2 separate regions of the Homo sapiens genome follow, and region 1 is linked to region 2. The links are contacts of gene promoters, found by promoter capture Hi-C in blood cells and fetal thymus (Javierre and others, 2016). All regions are on one chromosome and are shown on one strand. Each heading gives the region's core, a stretch centred on a gene start or on the middle of the fragment in contact. The rest is flanking DNA. Distances are from core to core; before and after follow the strand shown.

Region 1 (7,134 bases), core at 2,433-4,932, 390 kb after region 2:
TAATTATTTTCAATGGTATATAATGTGTGAAAATATGGGATGTAGTTTATATAATAAAGCCAACATTGGCATCAGTATAAAAAAATGCTAAAACTCCTTTCATTCTTTCAGTTCTATGCTTATAATTTGTACACTTTTCTCTATGTATGTTATACTCCCATAAAAAGTTTGCAGTAAAAAATGCAAACTGCAAAGAGATTTTATTAAGATAAACCTGGGACACAATGAGGTGGATTAAGATAGAGACAAATATATTCCAGAAAAGAATGGGCAATGAATGTAGAGTAGGTATTCAGGTAGAATGAAGAGAACAAGTAAAAGATTTATATAGTTGTGTTCTGGGAGTCTCAGCACAGAGTATTTTTTTTAAACCCAAGAGCTTTTTATTTTACGCCATAATACAAATGGATTTAAGTCAAAACAGAAAAATGTGCAATTGTTGGAAATTACCCTTCAGTAAGGTTTCTCAGTTGGCTATTTAACCTAGTGATTTGTGTAAAGATTATAGTTTTTTTCCCCTTCGTCGTATAGTGTATTTCTTTTCTTTTTGTCTTCAAGTAAGTATTTATTTTTATAATATAATATCATCATAGTTACAGACATTTTAAATGTAGGTGTTCTTTCAAATGCTTGGAAAACATAAGTACTTTTTATCTCAGAAATATGTAGTGATAGTGTAGAGAGGGGGTTGAACTGATTTTTAAGTCGAAGATCAAAACATGCAAATACTAGCAGTCATATCACATGAGTTGTATGAAGAAGAAAATAATAGAAAGTCTCTAAAACCATAAAAGCTGAAAGAAATAAGAAACATATTTTAAATGTCTCAGAGTCAGATGTTTTCATCTAATATAAAGACACATGCACACGTATGTTTATTGCGGCACTATTCACAATAGCAAAGACTTGGAACCAACCCAAATGTCCAACAATGATAGACTGGATTAAGAAAATGTGGCACATATACACCATGGAATACTATGCAGCCATAAAAAATGATGAGTTCATATCCTTTGTAGGGACATGGATGAAATTGGAAACCATCATTCTCAGTAAACTATCGCAAGAACAAAAAACCAAACACCGCATATTCTCACTCATAGGTGGGAATTGAACAATGAGATCACATGGACACAGGAAGGGGAATATCACACTCTGGGGACTGTGGTGGGGTCGGGGGAGGGGGGAGGGATAGCATTGGGAGATATACCTAATGCTAGATGACACATTAGTGGGTGCAGCACACCAGCATGGCACATGTATACATATGTAACTAACCTGCACAATGTGCACATGTACCCTAAAACTTAGAGTATAATAAAAAAAAAATCATTTATTAAAACAAAGTTTTTATATTTTTATAATAGTGTTTCACTTGATAAATATTTTTGAATAAATGAATGAGGAAATTAAAGAACAAAAAAAAAAAAAAAAAGAAAATTACTCTCAAAGTTCGTTTACATTTCTAAGTGGCTCAAGTCATAGTGACTAAAATAAATTCTAATTTTAAAATTAGTAAATCTGAGTGTGCCCCAGCAGTATTGTCTTGAAATGAATAAAACTAGGGCAGGTAAAAACCTGGATTCTGCCGGTAAAGACAGTCATGGAGGCCGGGCACATGCTCATGCCTGTAATCTCAGCACTTTGGGAGACCTAGGCGGGCGGATCACTTGAGGTCAGAAGTTCAAGACCAGCCTGACCAACATGGTGAAACCCCATCTCTACTGAAAATGCAAAAATTAGCTGAGTGTGGTGGCGGGTGCCTGCAATCCCAGCTACTTGGGAGACTGAGGCAGGAGAATCGCTTGAAATCGGAGGTGGAGGTTGCAGTGAGCTGAGATTGCCCTACTGCACTCCGGCCCAGGCAGCAGACTGAGATTCATCTAAAAAAAAAAAAAAAAAAAAAAAAAAAAAGACAGTCATGGAAAGCATTTGGCTTTTCCATGACAGCTGTAGCAGAGGTCCCAGGGATGGCTTCCTCATTCTCTAGTGTTGAACAGTGGAACATGGGATATCCATTCTCCTGGCATGGATCATGGCAGAAGTGATCTGGTCCTGGAGCCAGCAGTGGGGATTGGCTCTCAATTTCCTACCCATCAATGTTTGATACTAACTAGCTGGAATAATGTTTTTAAAAGTCTGTTTTGCTTGAAAACACTGGGCAAGGGTATATGTGTCCTGTTGGAGCAAACTGAATCCTAACTAATGCAGGATGATAGAGGAAAAAGTGTTTGAGGAAGAATTGTATCCCATTTTCAGAGCTTGAATATAAAATCAACAATCATGTGCTTTGAATGTCTGAGTAGACTCTTGCCTATTGCTGAGAAACTGAAGAAAATATTACTGCATTTAGTTTTATATGTCTATATAGTAGAATGGCCATTACTCTGAATTTGCAGAGATAAATAAATAAACAAAGCATAATGAGGGAATACTATAAACAATTGTATATAGCATACAACAAATCAGATGACTTAGATGGAATTAACAAATTCCTAGAAAGACACAAACTACTGAAACTAGCTCAAGAAGAAATAAAAATTCTGAATAGATATATAATTATTGAATAAACTGAATTAGTAATCAAAAAAGTTCCACAAAAAAAAAGCTCAGGCCCAGATGGCATCATGGGTGAATACTACTAAATAATGCAATTTATGAGGCCAGTATTACTCTCGCATCAAAACCAGACAAAAATATCACAAAAAAGGAAACTACAGACCAATATTCCTTATGAATACAGATGCAAACATCTTCAACACAATACTAGAAAACTGAATCCAGCAGCATACAAGGATTGTATAACAAGACCAAGTGGGATTTATCCCAGGAATGCAAAATTTGTACAACACATGAAACTTAACCAATGTAATACATATTAATTAAATAAAGGACAAAAAACACACGAACATCTCAATAGATATTATAGAAATATAAGGGAATGTATCCAATTTGATAAAAGACATTTATGAAAAACCCACAGCAAATATGACACTTAGTGATAAAAGACTGAAAAGCTTTCCTCCAAGGTCAAAAACAAGACAAGTTGTTCATTTTTACCACTTCTATTCAACATTGTGCTAGAGGTCTAGCCAGGGCAATTAGGCAAGAAAAATAAGTAAAAGCCGTCCAGATTGGAAAGGAAGAAGTAAAACTATCCACAGATGGCATGATATTATATATAGGAAGTTCTAAAGAATTCTTAAAAATCTACAAAAATGTAGCCCAACTTTCAATTCTTTTAGTCAAAAGAAAGTTTGTAATTTGTGTCTTTTATCTTTATATAATTGTGTGTCTAACTTGTCTTTTAAAAAATTTTTGATGTTCCTGGGAAAATCTAGTTCTAATTAAGAAGACATTTAATTAAACCTATACAAGGTATAAATTTTCATAACAGCAAGATATAAATAAATAGATATTGGCAGTAGGAGTAATGAGTGATTCCATGTTTAAAAACTTCCCACCAGCCTAGCACGATAGGCACTTGATGGTTAGATTTACTTTTATTAATTTTTAAATTAAATTAAAGTCAAATAAAGTAATATAGTATGCTTTACTTTTTTAAGTTTTAGGTTTTAAACATTTAACCACCACCATCTTATTGAGCCTTTATATTATAACCTCATTCTATACAGAAAAAATATAAGATTCAAATAGATGAAGTGACTTGCCCTAGCCAATTCAGCAAACAAGCGGCAGAGGTGGGAACATGAACTGAGGACATGACCTTAGCCAGTGTTATATCCACTACTCCATGAATGACTAACCAAACAGGGAACGGGAGGGGCACAGGGAAAGTATTCCAGGCCATTGTGAACATCCCTCCACCCAGATTAGCAAGTTCTACCTTCTTGGAATAAGTGCCCAAGTAATTATCATCCCTGGATAAAGCCTTGGTGATAACCAGTTAATTAATCAGGGCTTCTTCATTGTTCAGTGCTTCCCACACTCCATGTTGGACAATAGTGTTCATACCAGATTAGCAAGTTCCGCCTTCTTGAAATAAGTGCCCAAATAATTATCATCCCTGGATAAAGCCTTGGTGATAACCAGTTAATTAATCAGGGCTTCTTCATTGTTCAGTGCTTCCCACACTCCATGTTGGACAATAGTGTTCATACTCTAACCCAGACCTTTTGTTAATCTTCTATTCCATTTTCCCACTCTCACTATTACAAATGTTTCATTAATGGAGGCCTTCCATCCGAATTTGCAAGAATTTCATGATAAAGAGATATAAAATGTTAGACAAGTTGAGAACTTATTATAAAGCTCTCAAAAGCAATGATTCAAGATCACAGTTTATATATATGTACAATCTTGTTTTCCTACACAACGTTCTTTAACAAAGCTTTAGTAAGTATTGCGTGGACTTTAGAGCTGCTGTATTTCCACTGAGCTATATGACTCACATTATTTATAAATACAGAATAAGGATAGACTCAGTGACCCTTGTGGAAAAAATTAGGATACATGTCAATTTAAGTCAACAAATGTTGTACCACTATGTTGTACAAAGCACTGTGCTTTTTTGTATCTCTGTCTCACACAGGTGTATATGAATAAACTTATACTCTTTTCCTTCAAAGATTAGTTGTCAAGATTAGACATAAATGCAACTAACTCAATATTGAGCATAAAATAATTAAATAGCATTTTCCTAAGCCATTTGGTAAAGAAAATATTTAATGCTTTTACCAATATAGTCAGTTGGCTTTTTGGGATCTCTTGGGAATTTCAGTGCTCCTGTAGTGAACCTTGATCTAGGACCAGCTTGCTTTTTCTCCCTCCTGTGCCTCCCTTTGTCAGCAGAAGCCTTACTGTTGTCACCAGTTGACAGTATTCATAAGATGGCTGCATCAGTACTTACCTAGAGTCCAGAAGGAAGGTGAAAACTTTTGTATCCCAAAGGTGGCAAAAACATCCTGAGACTAATTTTCATTGGTCAGAATTGGGCCATGTATTTAACCTTAGACTAATCACTATGGCTTACACTAATCATGGAAGATTCCTGGAGCTGGGAGCAGGGACACTTCTAGTCAAACACTATGGTCTAAGTTGGGGAAGGGGTGATATTCAGAAGGAAATTTTTTACCGTAAAAAGGATAGACATTATCAGTATGTAACAAAATAACAAACCACAATTGCCCACTACAGACCTTTAATGCCTTTTAATTATTGCTGAAAGGCATTAAAGGTCTGATATCTACAGAAAAGCTTGCAGAAATAGTGCAGTCAGATAAGAGAAATGAACTGTAGCATATCCAATAGCCTTCAGTGGTCCAGGTGGCAGTGTTAAGACAAGGTATTAAAATATAGAACTCAATATTTAGAATAAAAAAGATAAAACAAAGCCCAAGACCTACTAAAAAGGGCCTCAGAATCAGAATAGGAAGCTTCAGTGGACAAGACAATGAACCAGCAGCAACAATGCACAGCACAGAATCTTGTTTCTTTACCCACAGTGGATAAGGTTACCATCGACAAATGAAAATATGATGAATTTCTAAAAAATGCTACCACATATACTCATATATTCATATATTTATGGTTATTCAGATTCTGGTATCCAGAGTAGGCAACATAAAGGTCAGTAGCCCATCCACCACTCATTTTAACAGAAATCTGTCTGTATATACACATGCTGTAGGAGGACACAAAAACTATCAAGGTCTAAGACAACAACAGAAGACAGAGCAGGACTAATCAGTAAAAAGAGCCTTAGGACTTTGGTGAGAAGTCAATTCAGGCCAAGCTCTTCAGGAAGAAATGCAGGCAATATTGTTGTGTCCTTCACATAGGAATATGACGTAGGAAACATAAAAATATGTATTTTTACTTGCTTTTTTCTCTCCAATAAATAGTAACATCTTGAAGTGATTCAGCTATATATTTTTACCCTACCCCTCTTTTGACATAGTCATGTATTTATGAAAGATGTACTGAGGACAAGGATGCTATCTATAGCCATGGAAACACAAAGCTTTAATCAGTTCTTGAGCAATCTTAGGATCTAACATTTCTCCTCCTGTATTTTGAAAGCCCCAGTGAGTTTACATTCTCAGAGGACCTTATTACCAGCAAGGCCCGGAGTCCCAAGAGTAAAAAACATCTTCCTCTCCTCTGTCAGGGGTGATGAGGGTAAGGTGGTGTCTAGAGGCCCAGCCACACCAAATTTTCAACTGGGACAGTTATATCAGATGCCCCTTAATCTCCTCTATTTGCAAACGTCTACCAATGTGTTCTGTGCTACATCTCATACTTACCTCCTACTGTGTCCAGCCCTATTATCTGTGCCTTACAACATAGATTAACCCATCATATTTACTCATTCCTGTCCATATTCGCTCTCATCTTCCCCACTATCTCCTCCTGTTTTCTCATCATTTTCCTATTATTAAAAACAGAACAACTGTCACATTTTCTGGACAGCACCTTTTATTTCAGTGTTCTTTTGGTGTTCGCCTTCTCTGCTGACTATATTTCCCAGACAAGCCCATTTACTCTTTGGTATTGTTAGAAAATGTTATTAAGATCACATACCTTGGTTGACCACTAACTTGTGAAATCTTACTTTAATCTGGCCCAACTGTCCATTCAGAAACTCTCTCAATCATCCTTTATTTACACATTTCCCATAGTTGACTGTTGTGGACCATTTCTACACAAGCTAGCTTTCTAAATACTATCCTTACTCACAGTAGATGATGTTGCTTAAAACAATCTTATTTGAATTTCTATAAAATACTCCCTACTACCTCCAGAAATCTTTTTTCACTATTCTCCTTACCGGAATGTTCTTTCTTCTACAGATCATTCCAACTCCACAACTGGTCTAAATCCTTCAAATTTACCATTTCCTTATTGTCTTCTTGACTGTTCCAGGATCTTCTCTAAGTATTCATGGAAATATTTATAACTCTTATTTACACTTATCCTTTGCTTCCTAGTGTTAATTATCTTATAAAATTTTAAAAGAAACATAATAAATATCCTCCAAGAAATTTTAAGGAGGATTCTGGTGACATGAAGAGGAAATGGAAGTTATATCAAAAAACCGGATGGTTTTTATATAAATAATACAAAATTTGAAATGAAACAATTATGAATTGGGATGAAAAGACAGAGTGGATA
Region 2 (6,862 bases), core at 1,077-3,576:
TGCTGATAAATCTCTCTTCTCAGATCCCTTGATTTATGTCCAGAATTAGGCCTAGTACAAGGTTACTTGGAAAATACCTAAGAATTGAGGGACTGTTTGCCTTCCATAAGCAGGTAAGGGATGCCTTGATACTCAGCTGCAGCCTCACAATTCAGCTAAAGTCTGCTGTTTGGCTTTAGCTTTGTCTTCGTCCTCAGATTTTGGAAGGAAAAGGAACTGAAGCTTGCTTTAAGGTCATTTCTGAGATCAACAAACCTGTCCATGACCTTGTGACTGAATATTTTGGGATCATAACTAAACATCGATAATAGTTTGGATTCATAGCAAACATCTGCACATTCACTTTGAAATACAGCGAAGCATTCTAAATATGATCTGGATGAAAATCTGTATGTGTTTTATTTATTAAAGTTAAACTGGCCAGGAAAAGATAAGCATTTATCATTGCAATAGTAAAGTGATGCAATAATATATGATGATTTTGGAAGCTGTTCATTTCATTGCATGCCCAAAAATAAAATACTTACAAAGAATCAAACACATGAAAAAAATAAACTGAAATTAATAAAAATCTCAAAAGAAAGTAGGTTGGCCAGCTGTTTCTAAAAATCTATATGGTAATATAAGGAAACAACAAGGATTATATAATAATTCTAATCTTTGCAGAGTTGTTTACAGTACTCTTCATAACATTAAATAAAATGATTTTTAAGATCTGTGTTTAATTTTTAAAGTAATTAAATTTAAGCCAGAAACCTTTAAGGAAGGTCTGTTTGAGAATTTTTCACATCTTTTAAGAATGAATTAAAAGGAGAATTTCAACTCTGTACAGACGTCATTTGGTGATGGTTGTATTTGGCCTTCAAAAAATGTTGATTTTAACATTTGGCCATTTGGCAACTATTCAATACACCTCTAATTCAGATAAATTATTTATTCCTGTTTTTAACATTTGAACATTCTCGCCAACTCCCACTTGAAAAAATAAATAAGTGGTTTATTTTCTCCAATTTTGCCCTGAAGGATGACTGGAGATCATGTTGTCAGTGGAGCCCTTTTTGGGGATTACTAGCACTTTCTACTACTCTTCACCAGCTCTTTAGGTCAGAGGCAAAGGGGAGAGGGTTATATGCAGATGAAAGGCACCCTAGTGTCTCTACTGCATCCTCTGAACCTCTTGTTAACATACCTTACCTGAACAAGCCTGTTCTTGCCCAAACCTCCATCTTACAAAATATCTACTAAGAAAAGGGGGCGAGGACGGCTAGGACGACTCTAACAAGTTATAATATTATAAGATCAAATCCAAAGAGCTGGACTTTTCCTGTGGCCTCTCTTCCTAGGCCTTTGCTTTCAACATCCAACACTTTCAGGCCCTTCCTGTACGAACTGAGCAATGTGCTTCCTCTCATCACATGCCTGTAACTTTCTGGCTGGAGAGATCGAACCGATGTTGGAGACAAATTAAAAAAAAAAAGAGCGGAGAAAAAAGGTATAGACACTCAAAGATCATCTGGTTGGCACCTCCCTGAAGGCACATATAATACATTCCAGAAGGAGGGAAGGAAATCCTGGGCGTATGAATGAGATTCTACGGCCTGCGTGGAGCGGCGCTCTGGGCTGCTCCTCCCATCCCCGCATGGAAAGTTAGGCGTTTCTAGCCACATTAATTCATCCTAAAGGAAAAGAGGCGACAGCGGAGCAGCGTGCGCGCGGGGGAAAACACCCGCCCACGCGTGCCTTCGCCAACGCAAAGACGCAGCTCACACCCGTAACCGAGGAAGAGGGAGGCTCCCGCCGCGCTCACTTCCTGCGGGAGAGAGGAAAGACATCTTGCGGCAGGGAGGCCGGTGGCAGTTCCGCCCCTGGACCGGCCGGCAGCGGAGCGCACCCCGCCGCCACCTACGTGGCGCTGCCTGCTCGGGTGGCGCAGCGAGTAAAGGCCACCCCCGCCGTGCCCCGCGGTCCCCGGCCTTCCCACGGACGCCTGGCCCGGCCCGGGCGAGGGGCGACCGGGGTGAAGCCCGCCGCGCCCCGGGCCCTGCGGCAGGGCGACTCCGGGAGGCACAGGGCGCGCGAGGTGCAGGGGCGCGCAGGCCGCCGCCGGGTCACCCACCTTTCGCACTCTGCGGGCCGTGTAGAGCCCCATGCCGTCCTGAACCCGGGAGGACTTCAGGGAGAACCTGTCCGGCACGTACATGCCCAGCATTTTCCCGGGCGCGGCGGCCGCCGCCTCTCTCAACACCGGCGCTTAGCGCCCGGCAGGCGGCACATCGAAATTTGGGGTGCCAGGGTAGAGGGGAGAAACCGGCAGGGAAGGAGGAAATGGAGTTTTCCTCCCAGAATCCCCACCTCCCTGCCGATTCCAGGATCCCCCGCGGCTCAGCCCCTCCTCGTCCCGGGTCGGGCTCGGCCCGGATCCGTTCCTGCCATTCCTGCTGCGGGGGCGCGGGGGGCGCGGGCCTGGGCGCTGCGGGCGCCGGGACGCCGCTCGCTGATTGGCCCGAAGTTGGCGGCTCTGACCCGCGCCCGGGCGCGAAGCCCGGAGCAGGGCTGACCCCAGGGCCTCAAACCCGGAGGCCCGCGAGCTGCGCGGGCCGTCAGCACCCCTAGCCCCGGCGCGGCGGCGTGCGTTCCCGCCTTTGTCCAGCTCTGGGTTTTCAAACCTTGCCCCGCTGAACCATTACTCCCTGTAGGGGAGTCTCGCTTGCTTCTCTTCAGATGCAAAACGAAATGGACCTTCACACAGCTGGGGCATCCTCCAAAACAACTTTATCAAGTTCCTGACTCTGAAAGCCAGCTTATTGCCGACTACTGAGAACGAACCCTGCGGTCTAGGAAATTTCCGTGCTTCTCACATTTGAGTTATGCGTCTTTGCTTTTTTTCACGTTTGTTGCAGAGGCTAGAACTTAATAAGGGATCGCAAAGTATGTTGATTAACGTACGGAAAAATATGTTGCAAACAATTTAATGTTTTAAGCACTAGAAACTAGATATTTTATGGTAACATAACCTCTGGGAAGTTCTTATACTTCTCAAGGTACAATATTCCTGAGACCTCCCTTGCTTGATAATCATTAGACGTATTACGGATTTTCAGACATACGGAAGTGGATTTGTGGGAGACAGGAGGGGACACCCAAACAATAGCATCTGGTGTCACAACAATGCAATAAAGTCACAAGTCTTGTTTTAGTGTTTTTAATAAGCTGTTAGGCTGTGCAGTGTGCCCAGGACCTTTAAAAGCCTGTTTCATCCTTCAAAGTGATCCTGGGGTCATCTACTCATTTCTCTTGATATTTATGGTAATTTTCTACTCTAGGGTCTTTTCTCGGAAACCATTTGATGTTCTTAATTGATGTTCTCATAAACCATTAAAAGCACACACAAAAGTTTGACAAAATTACAGACTACACACACACACCATGGAAACGATTCCTGTTTCTGCAGGAAACCCTTGGAACATAGTTCCTAAGCAGATTTTTTTTTTTTTTTTTTTTTGACAGGGTCTAGCTATGTCTCCCAGGTTGATCTTGAACTCCTGGGCTTAAGGGATCCTCCGGCGGCGTTGGCCTCCTGAAGTGCTGGGATTACACACTTGAGCTACCACACCCGGCCCCTATGTAGATTTTGATTCAAGTTTGGAAAAAGGTTTAAAAAACAAGAACAAAAGGCATTATGGGAAAAAAAAATCATGTAGTGGCAATATTCGGAGACTTTAAGGAACACAGTAAATGATGACATGATCCTCTTTCTAAGAAATGTAAGTTTAGCTTTCACAGCAGGGAGAGGAACACTTAGCCACTCTGTGAGTTTTGATACCTTTGACTTCCCATGGAAGATCTCTAACTTCTCTAGGGGAAAATAAATCAATAAAAACAAAAACTCTCTTTTGGGGGAATTGGGAGTTCCATGGCCTTGAAAAATAGTAGGTGTTCATTAAATATGTCTTGAATGAAAGTCACTTCTGAGGCTGATCTGAGATGTTCAAAAATTCTATGGTGAGCCTAGAATTTACTTGACTTTTTGTTGTGCTTCACAAGGAACTGGACTAAGTAGGTTTTCCAGGGTTCCTTAGAACCAGGGCTGAAACCATGCCAGACCAGATCCACTGGGCCCACAGTCCAGAAGGTGGGGCCCTGGCATTTTCCTGGAGCATTCAGCTCTTTGTCAAACACAGGCTTCCAGCCACCCTTAAGCCATCCAGGGCTCTCAGTCAAATGCTCTGCCACTGTCTCTTTGGGCACGAGAATTTCCACAGCTTTTGATCGCTGGAGAGGAAAACGTTTTTTGGTTTTAGTCTGAAACAATCCTTATTTAGGGATCCTTATTTAGGCATATCTCTCAAATATTTGGTTGCATGCTGTCTTTCTGGGGAGCAAGGCTGCAGCCTTGAGAATGCCCCTCTCTGAATGTAGGCTTCTTTACTAATTAGAAAATGGTGAAAGTATATAAATAAAATTTTAAAGATAAATCTGAAATCAATAAGATGAGAAACTTTCCAGATATTTTATGAAGCTTGGTCAGATATTTTTGTTACAATTGACACATTCAGTGTATTTCATTAAAGCATGCAATGTTCTTTTTTATCTATTTAATGGAGTGTTCTGAAGATCTACTAACTAAAACATAGGAACTAGCAATAAAAAGTTCTTAATAATAAGTTCCATTACAACACACAAAAAGGATACATGTTTGCCAAATCAAAATGCACAGTATTGACCGGATATTTGATTTTGAAGCCTGTAAGACAGTGATAGTACAATGAGTCATTTCTTAAAACTTTAAAAGCTAGAAAGCGACCTTTCAATATTATCTTTGAAAAACGGGAAATTAAAAGTCTGCTTTATATCAGGAGTTTAAATCCAGTCTTTAAAAAATAAATAACAAAATCAAAAAAATTGATATTAAAGTACTACCATGCACCTGATTTACTTATTCTAGAAAATATTGCACTGTCTTGACAAACAAGAAATTATTCAAAATACATTGTTCCTTACTTTCAGATTTGCTTTTGGAGGAATCTTTTTCATTGATATGTCTAAAGCAAGCTCTAGTTATTGCATTTAAACGTATGTACTTGAGTGGGCCTTGTTTTTAGGGAAGACTTGAATTATGACTGTATATTAATTAATTATTTTACCATACTGTCAGTATTTATACATACTGTCGAACTCTTTTAATTGTGCCTTGGTTATTGATGACTGATTCCAAGCACCATGGTAGACTAAAAGCCTGATTGATAGAAAAAAAATAATAATAACCTGAAACATATTTGTCTTCAGTTATCAGAGAACCAGAGGGCTTTTGTAATAATTGAATATAAAACCAAGTTTCCAGAGCAGAAAAGAATAAAGATTTAGTTGGTGTGATTAAAAAAAAAAAGTTTGTTAAAATAAAATGGAGAGTAACGGTGTCAGATTCTTGCTCTTAAAACATCTATCCTCAGCATTGATTCTACAATAGCAACAGCACCATGAAAAGATGTCCCTGAAACCTAAAAAAGTGTGAACACTAAATTTTTCTTAATGTCTTGAGTTTTGGAAAGGTACCATACACTTGTATGTGGTACCAAAAAAGAATCATAAATTTTAACTAGAAGAAAACTGAAGGTTGTTGTGACTAAATTGAGTAACATTATGCTACAGTTTGGATGTGTCCCTCAAAAGTTAACGTGTAGGAAATTTAATTCCCAAAGCAACAGTGTTGGGAGGCAAGGCCTAACAAGAGGTAATTGGTCATGAAGGCAGAGCCGTCGTGAATGAATTAATGTCATTACCACAGGAGAGCGTTAGTTATCTAGAAAGTGGGTTGTTATAAAAGCAAGCTTAACCCCATTTCCTCTCTGTGTCTCTAGAGCTTGCTTCTGTCTTCTGTCCTTCTGCCAAGAAATAACCCTTGCCAGATGCCAGTGGTAGGCTCTTGAACTTCCCAGACACCAGAACCATGAGCCAAATAATTTTTTTCTTTTTTTCAAGACTAGAAACTAGGTCTTGCTCGGTCTGCAGGCTGGAGTGCAGTGGTATGATCATAGCTCTCTGCAGCCTCCAACTCCTGGCTTCACAATCCTCCAGCCTCAGTCTTCCAAGTAGCTGGGACTATAGGTGCATATGACTGTGCTCAGCTAATTATCTTATTTTATTTTATTTTATTTTATTTTATTTTATTTTATTTTATTTTATTTTATTTATTTCATTGGTATAGATGGAGTCTCACTTTGTTTCCCAGGCTGGTCTCAAACGCCTGGCTTTGAGTGATCCTCCAGTCTCAGCCTTCCAAAGTTCTGGGATTATAAGCATGAGTCACCATGCCTGGCCCCAAATTTCTTTTCTTTATAATTTAACCAATCTGTGGTATTCTGTTATAGGAGAAGAGAACAGACTAAGACAGAAAATTGGGACCAAGAAGTGGAGTTATTTCTGTTACAAATACTTGAAATTGTGCAAGCAGCTTTGGAATTCGGTAATGAGTAGAGGCTACAAGAATTTGGAGGAGCAAGCAAGAAAAGGTACATATTGCCATGAACAGACCATGAAGGACAATTCTGATGAAGGCTTAGAAAAAGATCCCAGAATTAGGAAAGTCTAAATCTTCCTAAAAATGTTGAGAAAAATATAGACAGTAACAGTCATTCTGACAAGTTCCAGACAAAAATGGGGAACAAGGTATTGGAAACTGGAATAAAGACCATTCTTGTTATAAGATAGCAAAGACCTTGGCTGAATTATGCCTATATCCTAAGACTTTATGGAATGCAGAACTTAAAAGTGATGAACTTGGATATATGGTGGAAGAAATATCAAAGCAGTGAGCCATTCAGACTTCTGTCTGGCTACTTTTAACTACATGCAGTGAGATATG

Evidence for each region. Contacts are between HindIII fragments. The CHiCAGO score rates a contact against its expected background, and 5 or more counts as called.
Region 1: a contact is called between a fragment that was not itself captured here and the fragment with the promoter of PRDM5 in region 2, in 1 of 17 cell types (activated CD4 T cells). The highest score is 7.1, in activated CD4 T cells.

Annotation. Positions count from the first base shown.
Region 1 is chr4:121,309,688-121,316,821 of GRCh38, forward strand. No RefSeq gene overlaps it. Among named protein-coding and RNA genes, the nearest start is that of QRFPR, 68 kb to the right of the region's middle. The HindIII fragment of the contact is 1,334 bases long and covers 3,016-4,349 here.
Region 2 is chr4:120,920,400-120,927,261 of GRCh38, forward strand. It overlaps PRDM5 (PR/SET domain 5), which reads right to left and starts at 2,327. Exons shown (of 16, transcript NM_018699.4): 1 at 2,117-2,327. The coding sequence starts at 2,209. It overlaps LOC105377399 (a long non-coding RNA gene), which reads left to right and starts at 2,537. Exons shown (of 2, transcript XR_001741804.2): 1 at 2,537-2,928; 2 at 6,369-6,862. The HindIII fragment of the contact is 4,297 bases long and covers 221-4,517 here.